Regions from separate parts of the Homo sapiens genome. Here region 1 is linked to region 2. The links are contacts of gene promoters, found by promoter capture Hi-C in human tissues and cell types (Jung and others, 2019). All regions are on one chromosome and are shown on one strand. The core of a region is centred on a gene start or on the middle of the fragment in contact, and the rest is flanking DNA. Distances in the headings are between cores, read along the strand shown. Region 1 holds the start of ZNF668 (zinc finger protein 668). Region 2 holds the start of CDIPT (CDP-diacylglycerol--inositol 3-phosphatidyltransferase).

Evidence for each region. Contacts are between HindIII fragments. The study calls those that stand out against the background at their distance.
Region 1: a contact is called between the fragment with the promoter of ZNF668 here and the fragment with the promoter of CDIPT in region 2, in 1 of the 25 tissues and cell types used here (hippocampus).

Annotation. Positions count from the first base shown.
Region 1 is chr16:31,072,903-31,077,222 of GRCh38, forward strand. ZNF668 (zinc finger protein 668) reads right to left here and starts at 1,338. Exons shown (of 3, transcript NM_024706.5): 1 at 757-1,338. It overlaps ZNF646 (zinc finger protein 646), which reads left to right and starts at 1,520. Exons shown (of 3, transcript NM_014699.4): 1 at 1,520-1,729; 2 at 3,344-4,320. The coding sequence starts at 3,423. RefSeq lists enhancers at 214-1,014, 306-600, 1,220-1,753, 1,259-1,398, 1,754-2,286 and a silencer at 489-948. The HindIII fragment of the contact is 1,997 bases long and covers 330-2,326 here.
Region 2 is chr16:29,859,799-29,864,518 of GRCh38, forward strand. It overlaps CDIPT (CDP-diacylglycerol--inositol 3-phosphatidyltransferase), which reads right to left and starts at 3,428. Exons shown (of 6, transcript NM_006319.5): 1 at 3,017-3,428; 2 at 2,788-2,922; 3 at 1,308-1,461; 4 at 783-864. The coding sequence starts at 3,059. It also overlaps the pseudogene CDIPTOSP. RefSeq lists enhancers at 855-1,393, 3,549-4,086 and silencers at 3,121-3,430, 3,441-3,500. The HindIII fragment of the contact is 6,529 bases long and covers 2,512-4,720 here.

The DNA.
Region 1 (4,320 bases), core at 88-2,587, 1.2 Mb after region 2:
TTCCCTAGTGCCCTCAGGAATACTTTATGGCAGTAGAGAGGTAAGGGCCCCACGCCGCTCTGGACCTCAGTTTCCTCATCAGTAAAATGGGGTCCCTTAAGTTTGTGGGAGTTTGAAGGGCGGTGGGGCCTACGAAGCGCGCCGAGGAGCCGAGAGTTGCAGAAACCCGGAGCTCCTCGCTCCTCGCAACCGTCTGTACGCGGCGCCCCCGCCAGCCAGGCAGCCCCTGGAGGGCAGGACCCCGGTTATAAGCCTCAGAAAACGTGGCTTCGGAGGACGTGGCAAGGAGGACTGAACGAAGGATGAGGAGATGAACAAATGAATGGACGGAAGGCCGAATGAGGGACAAAGGCTTGCAAGATGGCGTTCTCTAGGACCGCGGGAGTGGTGGCCGGGCCTCAGCAGGGGAGGGGGCCGCCGGCGCCTGGGATCTTGCAGCGCGGGCCACGCGACCGGGACAAAAACCCAAAACATGGCGGGCTCTAGGACCCCCGGGACCACACCGCGCCGGGCCAGCAGCCGCGCGGGCCGAGCCTGGGTGTCCGCAGCCCAGAACCGCGGAGACAGCCGGCGGGTTCTAGGACCTGCTGGGCCCGCAATGCGCCCGGGGCCGCTCACAGCCCGCCCCGCCCGCGCTGCTCGCGCTGGGCCAACCCGGCCCGCCCTCGGCGCCCGCAGGGAAACTGAGGCCAGCTCGGATCGTGGCCGCGTGGGAGCTGCCCGGGGCCCTCGCGGCTTCCCGCCGACGTTTCCTACCTGATGAGACTTGTGCTGACTCCGTGGCGTCGGCGTCGGCTCCTCGCACCGACGGAGCCCGGACCCTGCCAAACAGGGGCCGGCGCTAGGACCCAGCGGGGGGCGGGGAGGTGGGACCGGTGGCGCGGCGAGCGGAAGTGAGGGATCTTCCTCAGCTAGGAAGGAAGGGAAAGTTCCCGGGGAACCTCCAGCCTATGGCGGCAGAGAAGCATCTTGCAAGAGGTCTCTGTGTGTGCTGAGGCAAGGGGACGCCAGGCAGGCTGACGGTATACGCCCGCCTTGTGTTAGTCTGGGGCCAGGTCACCGGCAATGTCTTCAAGAACCAGAAGGTGGGAGGACAAAAAGGCCATGCTCAAGCTCTGCAAAACCTAAGTCCAATTATATTCCACAACATTTCCTTTAATAGCAAGGAGTGGGTTTCACGAAGTTTTCTCCATCTGCCTTGGGAAAAGTCCTCCAGAGAGCCCCACGAAAAGTGTCACCAAAGTACTGTGGCCAGGGCTGTAGAATCTTTTTCTCCCTTTCTGCGCCTATTCAATATGCACCGGAACGATTCTAGCTGCTCTTGCCGGAAGTGTGGCTAGCTTAGCGTGCAAAGACGCCGCGTTGTGACCTACGTGGGCGGAGTCAGCCGTGCAGACCTAGAACTTAGCGCCGGAAGTGTGTCTGCGTAAAACTGCGGCTCGGAGGCGGGACAGGCAGTGCTCCCGAAGCGGAAGTTTCGCGGGGAAGCTTTTGCACCTAAGGACACTTCCTGTTTCCTAGTAACAATAGGAAGTGTCCGTAGAGCTGGGAGTAGACTCCTGGCTCATGCCAGCTGCGCCCTCTTTTCTCTACCTCCTTCCTCTTCCCCCCTTCTCCTTTCCCTCTTTCCCTTCCCTCCCACCTCCCGGGAACCCTGGCTGAGTGTGCGTGTGTGGGAGCGCGAGAGCCCCCCGACAGCCACCCCTTGGGGCGCGCGGCTGCAGTTAGGGTAAGGGTCCCAGTGCGCAGGCGCGCTCTTGTTCGCGGTCCCCAACTGACGCGCCCGCGGCGGGAAGGAGAGGGGGCCGCCGGTGCGAGGTAGGCGTCCTGAGAGGAAATTGGCAGACGAGATGAGTGAGGTCAGAGGACTTCATTGGTGGTTGACTAGGGGAGGGGACTTTTGATCAAAGGGGCTTTGTGAGGTGAGAATTCCGGGGGCAGGTTCAGTGAAGGGGTTTACGGTCGGAGACAGTTGTACTGGGGTCCCATGGGAAGAAGAGTCAGAGTTGGAGAAGGACAAGACGATGTAGGGGGCATGAGAGAGCAAGGGCTTTGGGATGAAGACCGCCTCAGTCAGGGGGTTTGCTGTTACGTGAACTAGAATAACAGGCATTGCCGTGTGTTCTGAGGATTGAGTAACACAATGAATATAGTTAGCACAGTGCCTGGCACATGGTAATATAATACTCTTCATGAGTTGCTGTCATCATCAGTATTAAGAGAGGAGGCAGAAGAAAAAAATGAGAAAGACTGGTGAGGGTAAGATCAGGAGGCATGGGAGAGAAAAGGTAGGCAATGAAGTGACATTACAACCTGGTATTGATGTTATTCCCAAGATGGAAGATAGTTTGAGTTCAAGGGAAGTAGATAAAAGAAGTCGCTAAGAGAGTCTTTTGGGGTTTTTTGTTTTTTTGAGATGGAGTCTCGCTCTGTCACCCAGGCTGGAGTGCTGTGGTGGGATCTCAGCTCACTGCAACCTCCACCTCCCAGGTTCAAGCAGTTCTTCAGCCTCAGCCTCCTGAGTAGCTAGAATTACAGGTGCCCACCACCACGCCCGGCTAATTTTTGTATTTTTAGTAGAGACAGGGTTTCACCATGTTGTCCAGGCTGGTCTTGAACTCCTGAACTCAGGTGATCCACCAGCCTCGGCCTCCCAAAGTGCTGGGATTACAGGCGTGAGCCACCACACCTGGCCCAGTTAAGAGAGTCTTAACTCTCTTAACTCTCTTGTCACAAGGAAAAGAGACCTTGTGACACTGAAATGACTCGGGGTGGTGGGGGAACAAGCCAGCCCTTTCCCTGAAGGAGGCCTCTAACCTCTCCTCTCAGGTCCTCAGCTATTAACTGGAGGAAACAGCTGCTTTTTCAGTGCTTCTCAGCTACTCTGTTTAGCTGAGAGATGAAGTAGGAAGATTTGGACTTCTCTTATTGAAAGGCCTAGAGAAGGTTTTGGTGTCCTTTTAAGATGTCACAGAAAATTTTTGTTTCAGGATTGTAGGGAGCAGATTCCTACTGTTCTTAAAGGACAGTAATGCCTTTTGAGTCTGGTCTGAAGAACATAACAGGTCTGTGATCAGAAGTAGGTTGCATCTCTCTCAACTTTAATTTCCTTAGCTATACCTGTAGGGATGACTTAAGCCTAGGGGAGCTCCTATATTTGGGAAGCTTGTGCACAGGGAAGCCTTAAATGATGGTGCCTGCAGATTGGATCTAGTAGAAATTAGGTCCTTGGGCATGGATGCTTGGGGAACCTCTCAGTGACCTCAGGTGAACTTGTTGCTCGTAGAGCCAAGAGGCGAAGTTAATTCAGGCCTTCCTTTTGACCACTGCCCCCTCTTCCTAGGCCTTGGCCCCTCCACCAGAGGAAGGTGCTGCCACGTGTCTGCTCCTTCTGAACCTCCAGGTTTCTGCTACGTTGCCCCATGGAGGACACACCCCCCTCACTCAGCTGCTCCGACTGTCAGCGCCACTTTCCCAGCCTCCCAGAGCTCTCTCGGCACCGAGAACTGCTCCATCCATCTCCCAACCAGGACAGTGAGGAGGCTGACAGCATCCCTCGGCCCTACCGTTGTCAGCAGTGTGGGCGGGGCTACCGTCACCCCGGGAGCCTGGTTAACCATCGTCGGACCCACGAGACTGGCCTTTTCCCCTGTACCACCTGTGGCAAGGACTTCTCCAATCCCATGGCTCTCAAGAGCCATATGAGGACACATGCTCCTGAGGGCCGCCGCAGGCACAGGCCCCCACGCCCCAAGGAAGCCACTCCACACCTCCAGGGTGAGACGGTGTCCACTGACTCCTGGGGCCAAAGGCTTGGCTCTAGTGAAGGCTGGGAAAACCAGACAAAACATACAGAAGAGACACCTGACTGTGAATCTGTACCTGACCCCAGGGCAGCTTCGGGTACGTGGGAAGATCTGCCCACCAGACAAAGAGAAGGCTTGGCAAGCCACCCAGGTCCTGAGGATGGTGCAGACGGCTGGGGACCCTCCACTAACTCTGCCAGAGCCCCTCCTCTCCCCATCCCAGCCAGCAGCCTTCTTAGCAACTTGGAACAGTATCTGGCTGAATCAGTAGTGAACTTCACAGGGGGCCAGGAGCCCACCCAGTCCCCTCCTGCTGAGGAGGAGCGGCGGTACAAATGTAGTCAGTGTGGCAAGACCTACAAGCACGCCGGGAGCCTCACCAACCACCGCCAGAGCCACACGCTGGGCATCTACCCCTGTGCCATCTGTTTCAAGGAGTTCTCTAACCTCATGGCTCTGAAGAACCACTCTCGACTGCATGCCCAGTATCGGCCTTACCACTGTCCCCACTGCC
Region 2 (4,720 bases), core at 2,178-4,677:
AGTTTGGGACCAGCCTGGCCAACGTGGCGAAACCCCTCTCTACTAACAATACAAAAATTAGCCGAGTGTGGTGGCACGTGCCGGTAGTCCCAGCCACTCAGGAGGCTGAGGCACAAGAATCGCTTGAACCCAGCAGGCAGAGGTTGCAGTGAGCCGATAACCCGCCACTGAACTCCAGCCTGGGTGACAGAGCAGGACTCTGTCTCAAAAAAATAAATAAATAAATAAATAAACCCTTGGTCTCACGCAATCCTTCCACCTTAGCCTCCTAAGTAGAGACTACAGGCGTGTACCACTGTGCCTGGCTAAGCTAATTCAAGATTTTGTGTGTGTGTGGAAACAGAGTCTCACTTTGTTGCCCAGGCTGGTCTCAAACTCCTGGCCTCAAGCAATCCTCCCACCTCAGCCTCCCAAAGCGCTGGGATTACAGGCATGAGCCACCATGCCCAGCCATTATCTTTTTAAAAATCCTTCCAGAGGCTGCCTGTGTTCCTGGAATCAAGTCCACACTCCAGCCCTGCAGACCTCTCTGGCTTATCTCCCTTCCCGCTTTCAGTCCCTTCTCTTTGCAGGCCTCATTCCCACTTGTTCCCTGGAGTAATTCACACAGGCCTTCCCCACCAATCCTCCTCCTCCACGCCTCAGCTTACGGGCCCTCCTCCTGGAGTGACTGGGCAGGCCCTGCTCTGCGCCCTCGCCTTCTCCTAGGCTAGGACCAGGATTCAGCCCAGGGCTTCCCACAGCCAAGAGCCTGAGGGGTGGGGTGTGCAGGAAATGCTTACCCTCGAGGTGTAGTAGATCCGAAGCACCGGATTCCCGGACAAGTCGATCATCTTGTGACTCTCACTGCCTCGGACCACAGAACTTGGGGAGAAAACAGGGGAACCCACAAGGTTTCATGACCACTACCATGCATCCAATCCTCATGTTAACACCTATTGTACAGATGGAAAACTGGGCACGGCTAAGGACCAGTATCCTGCCGAAAGCCACAGTTACCTATTTGGGGGCAGAGTCAGGATTCAAATGCCACATTTGAAAGCTCCCATGCCCCTTCCTATAAGCTGTCACCTATATGGAATCCTAGAATACCCAGCCAGAAGAGTCCTAAGAATTGCTTAATGCAACTGTAAACATGACTGAAGCTTTAAAGAGAGGCAGGTTTGCCTGGGGTCTTTCTACAAAGCAGAGCTAAAAAGGAGCCCTTCCAGGATGCCTAGTGCCATCCCAGACACCCTTCCGTCTAGGCTCAGCCCACCCCACTGTAATGTCTCCAAGTGGCCCAGGCCCCCAGAATCGCAGCAGACCTGTGGAGGTGCAGCCAGTGACTGGCCACATCCAAACTCATGCTGATTTGGAAGAACAGCGTGGCTCCAGGGTACAGCAGGGCCAGGTTGACCAACAGGCACATGGTGGAGCAGCGGTCCGTCAGCATGTCCAGCATGGCCCCAAACCGGGTTCCTGGAAGATTAGGTGGGCAAGGGCTGTTATGGCACAGTGGATGCAGGACAGGTGCCCATATTTGGTTTATCACTCTGACGCAGGGTGTAAACGAAGACTGGAAGTGTCCGCCTGCCTGGGGAGGAACGCAGGCTAGAAAACAGGCTGTGTGTGAGGTCAGTGGGCAAAGGTCACCATGGCATGAACTGAGAAAGGCATGAGAGTGGAGGGAACAGGGTAGGAGGAGAGGAAAGCTATGTCTGCAACTCATCAACCCCAGAACCAAGACTCCAGGGCTAGATAGAGACTTGATGCCTCAGGGGAAGCCTTACAGTTGGGTCTGGAGAACAGATTAAAAAATTAGTCAACCCTCCAGAAGCCATCACCCTTCCCTCTCCATCCTCCCTCTAAGCATGCCTTCTGGAACCCCAACTGCTTATGCAGGGCACACAGTAGGCCTCCAGTAAACACCTGTTGAATACACTGTTTTTTGTTTTTTGTTTTTTTTTTTCCGAGACAGAGTCTTGCTCTGTCGCCCAGGCTGGAGTGCAATGGCGCAATCTTGGCTCACTGCAACCTCCGCCTCCCGGGTTCAAGCAATTCTCCTGCCTTAGCCTCCCGAGTAGCTGGGATTACAGGCACGCGTCACCAAGCCCGCTAATTTTTGTATTTTTAGTAGAGACAGGGTTTCACCATGTTGGCCAGGCTGGTCTCGAACTCCTGAACTCGTGATCCACCCACCTCGGCCTCCCAAAGTGCTGGGATTACAGGCGTGAGCCACCGCCCCTGGCCTGAATGGACTTGTATTCAGAGAGACCTCCAGCAGCGCCACCGCCATGTCATGTCTTGCTAATCCACACCTCTCACAAGCAGTGAGTTCTCAAGAGCTAGCTTAAATTCCTTTTGCTACAAAATCAGTCCATTCTTGCTGGGCGCGGCACTTTGGGAGCAAGGCAGGAGGATCGCTTGAGGCTAGGAGCTGGGGACCAATCTGGGCGACACTGCAAGACCCAGTCTCTACAAAAATTTAAAAATTAGCCGGGTGTGGTGGCACGCTCCTGTAGTCCCAGCTAGTCAGGAGGCTGAGGTGGGAGGATTACTTGAGCCCAGAAGATGGGGGCTGCAGTGAGCCATGATCGCGCCACTGCACTCCAGCCTAAGTGACAGAGCGAGACCCTGTCTCAAAAACAAAAAAACAAAACACAAAACAAAAAGCCCCAGGCCATCCTGTTCTGCTTTTTCCAGAGATGGGAATGACAGCCCTCTGACTCTGAGGTCCCGAGGAGGCAGGGGAAGGGAGGAGGGGATTGTTGAACCCCAAGGCTGGCTGAGAGGGGTGTCTGTCACCTTGATTAAGAGCGCGAGCAGCGTGTCCATCGAAAGCGTCCAGCAGGCCGCTGAGCAGGTAGAAGGAGGAGGCCGTGAGGGGGCAGCAGGGCATGAAGTAGAAAGAAATGATGGCGAAGACAATCCGGGCATAACCTTGGAACGGGACGCGGGGAGACAGGGCAGGATCAGGGAGCCCGCCAAGGCCCCTCGCCCTCTCGTTCGGCCCGGGGCCGTGGGCAGCACTCACCGATGAGGTTGGGCACGAACAGGAAGATATTTTCGTCTGGCATCGCGGCGCCTCCCTTGCTGCCCCGGGCCTGCTCTGGAGATGCCAGTGCTGTCCCAGCCCCGCAGCGCGGCCTCAGCCTCCGGCCCGGCGCATCGGCCGCACCACCTGCGCCCTGGACCCCGCCGCCCCAACCTGGCCCCAGATGCTGAAGCCCGCAGCCGTCGGGAGCATGGACCGGCCCCGAGGTGCGCGGGACGCAGGGGGCGCGCGCAGTCCGCCCTTCCTACCCGCAACCTCCCTCGCCTCTGCCAGCCCCGCAGGCGCTCCGGGCCTCCAGCTGCGGTCGCCGCTGCTCCAGCTGCGCGTGGCTTCCGGGAACCTCCTCCTCCGCGCCCGTCGTTGCAAAATTGGAGAGAGGAAAAAGTGGCTTAAAAAAATAGTTGCGGCCCCTTTAAGGCCTGTCGGCTTCCTTTCCCTTTTCCTCCCTCCGCCCCTCTCCCTTGGCTCGTACCAAAGCGCAGAGGAGGAGAGGGAGGAAGGAACCATTAACGTCAAGCAAAGTTAGAAACGGAAAAGGAAAGGGTAAAAGAGAAGACCGAATAAAAATCTCTGCTTTCCTTTTGTGGAGGGTATGACTTCCTGGAGGCAAAGATAAGGCGATAAAATTCCTCCTCCTGAGTCTTTGCGTCCCCAAGAGGCCAGGAGATTTGGTGCAGTCCTCACTTTACTCCCCGCCCCCTAAGTCTCCAGCCGCCTTTGCTCTCGCAGGCTCTAGGCGGCTAGAGAGGCTCCAGAGCGCCCTGCAGATGGGTTGCTTTTCGCGTGCCCCTTGTGATGGGAGGATTAGGTCGCAGGCTCCACCCTACGTCATCCTCCCAAGCTTCTCAAGCGTCTGGCGCTTGGGGTCACTGCCCTCAAGGAGGCACCTGGAGGGGTACGGAGGGGAGGCTGGAGGAGCAAACGGGGCGCGCTAGGAAATTCCTCTGTCTTTAGTTCTAGAACCCCTGATCTCCTAGCAACGAGGCTGCGGAACCTCTGCAGACTCCAAGGGTTTTATAGCGTCCGGTAGCGACACGGAGCCGGCTCCCCCTTTTCCAGCCTTCCTCCCCATCTCCCATTCTCCATCCCCCACGACCTATACCAGAGGTCCTTAGGCCTCCACGTCTCTCCTTTTGCCGAGTAGCCCAAGGTTTCCACCCATCTGCCAGGTCTGGGGCGTCAAGTCGGCTGCCTCGGCTTGGGAAGGTGCTTGGGAGGGAAGAAGGAAGGAGAGGCCCACCAGGCGAAGGGGTGAGGGGTAGGGGGTTGCGGGAGTTCCCTCTCACTCCCGAAGATATAAAGCAACCTTTATTATTATTATTATTTTTTCTTGTGAGAGGGAATGAGGCAGCGGGATGTTTCCTCTAAAGGCCTTGTTTAAACCTGGGCCCGGGGAATGGTGGTGGACTGGGTTCTGGGGGAAAGCGGGCTGGTTTCTCAGGTCAACTCAGGCTTCGACTGTTCCCAGGGGGATGGCGTCCACTCCGATGGGGAATGAGGGGGAGAAGAAGAGCAGCTGGCCATCTCAAGCTGCACCCTCCTTGAGAGGAGGTCCGGTGAGCACTGCAGGGAACCCTAGAGGTGGGAATGTAATGAAGTGAAAGCCTCCCAGGCAGAGGCACCCCGTGCCAGGTCTGAGCCACGGGCCCTGAGACTCTAGCCTCAACCCTGAGTCCTGAAGCC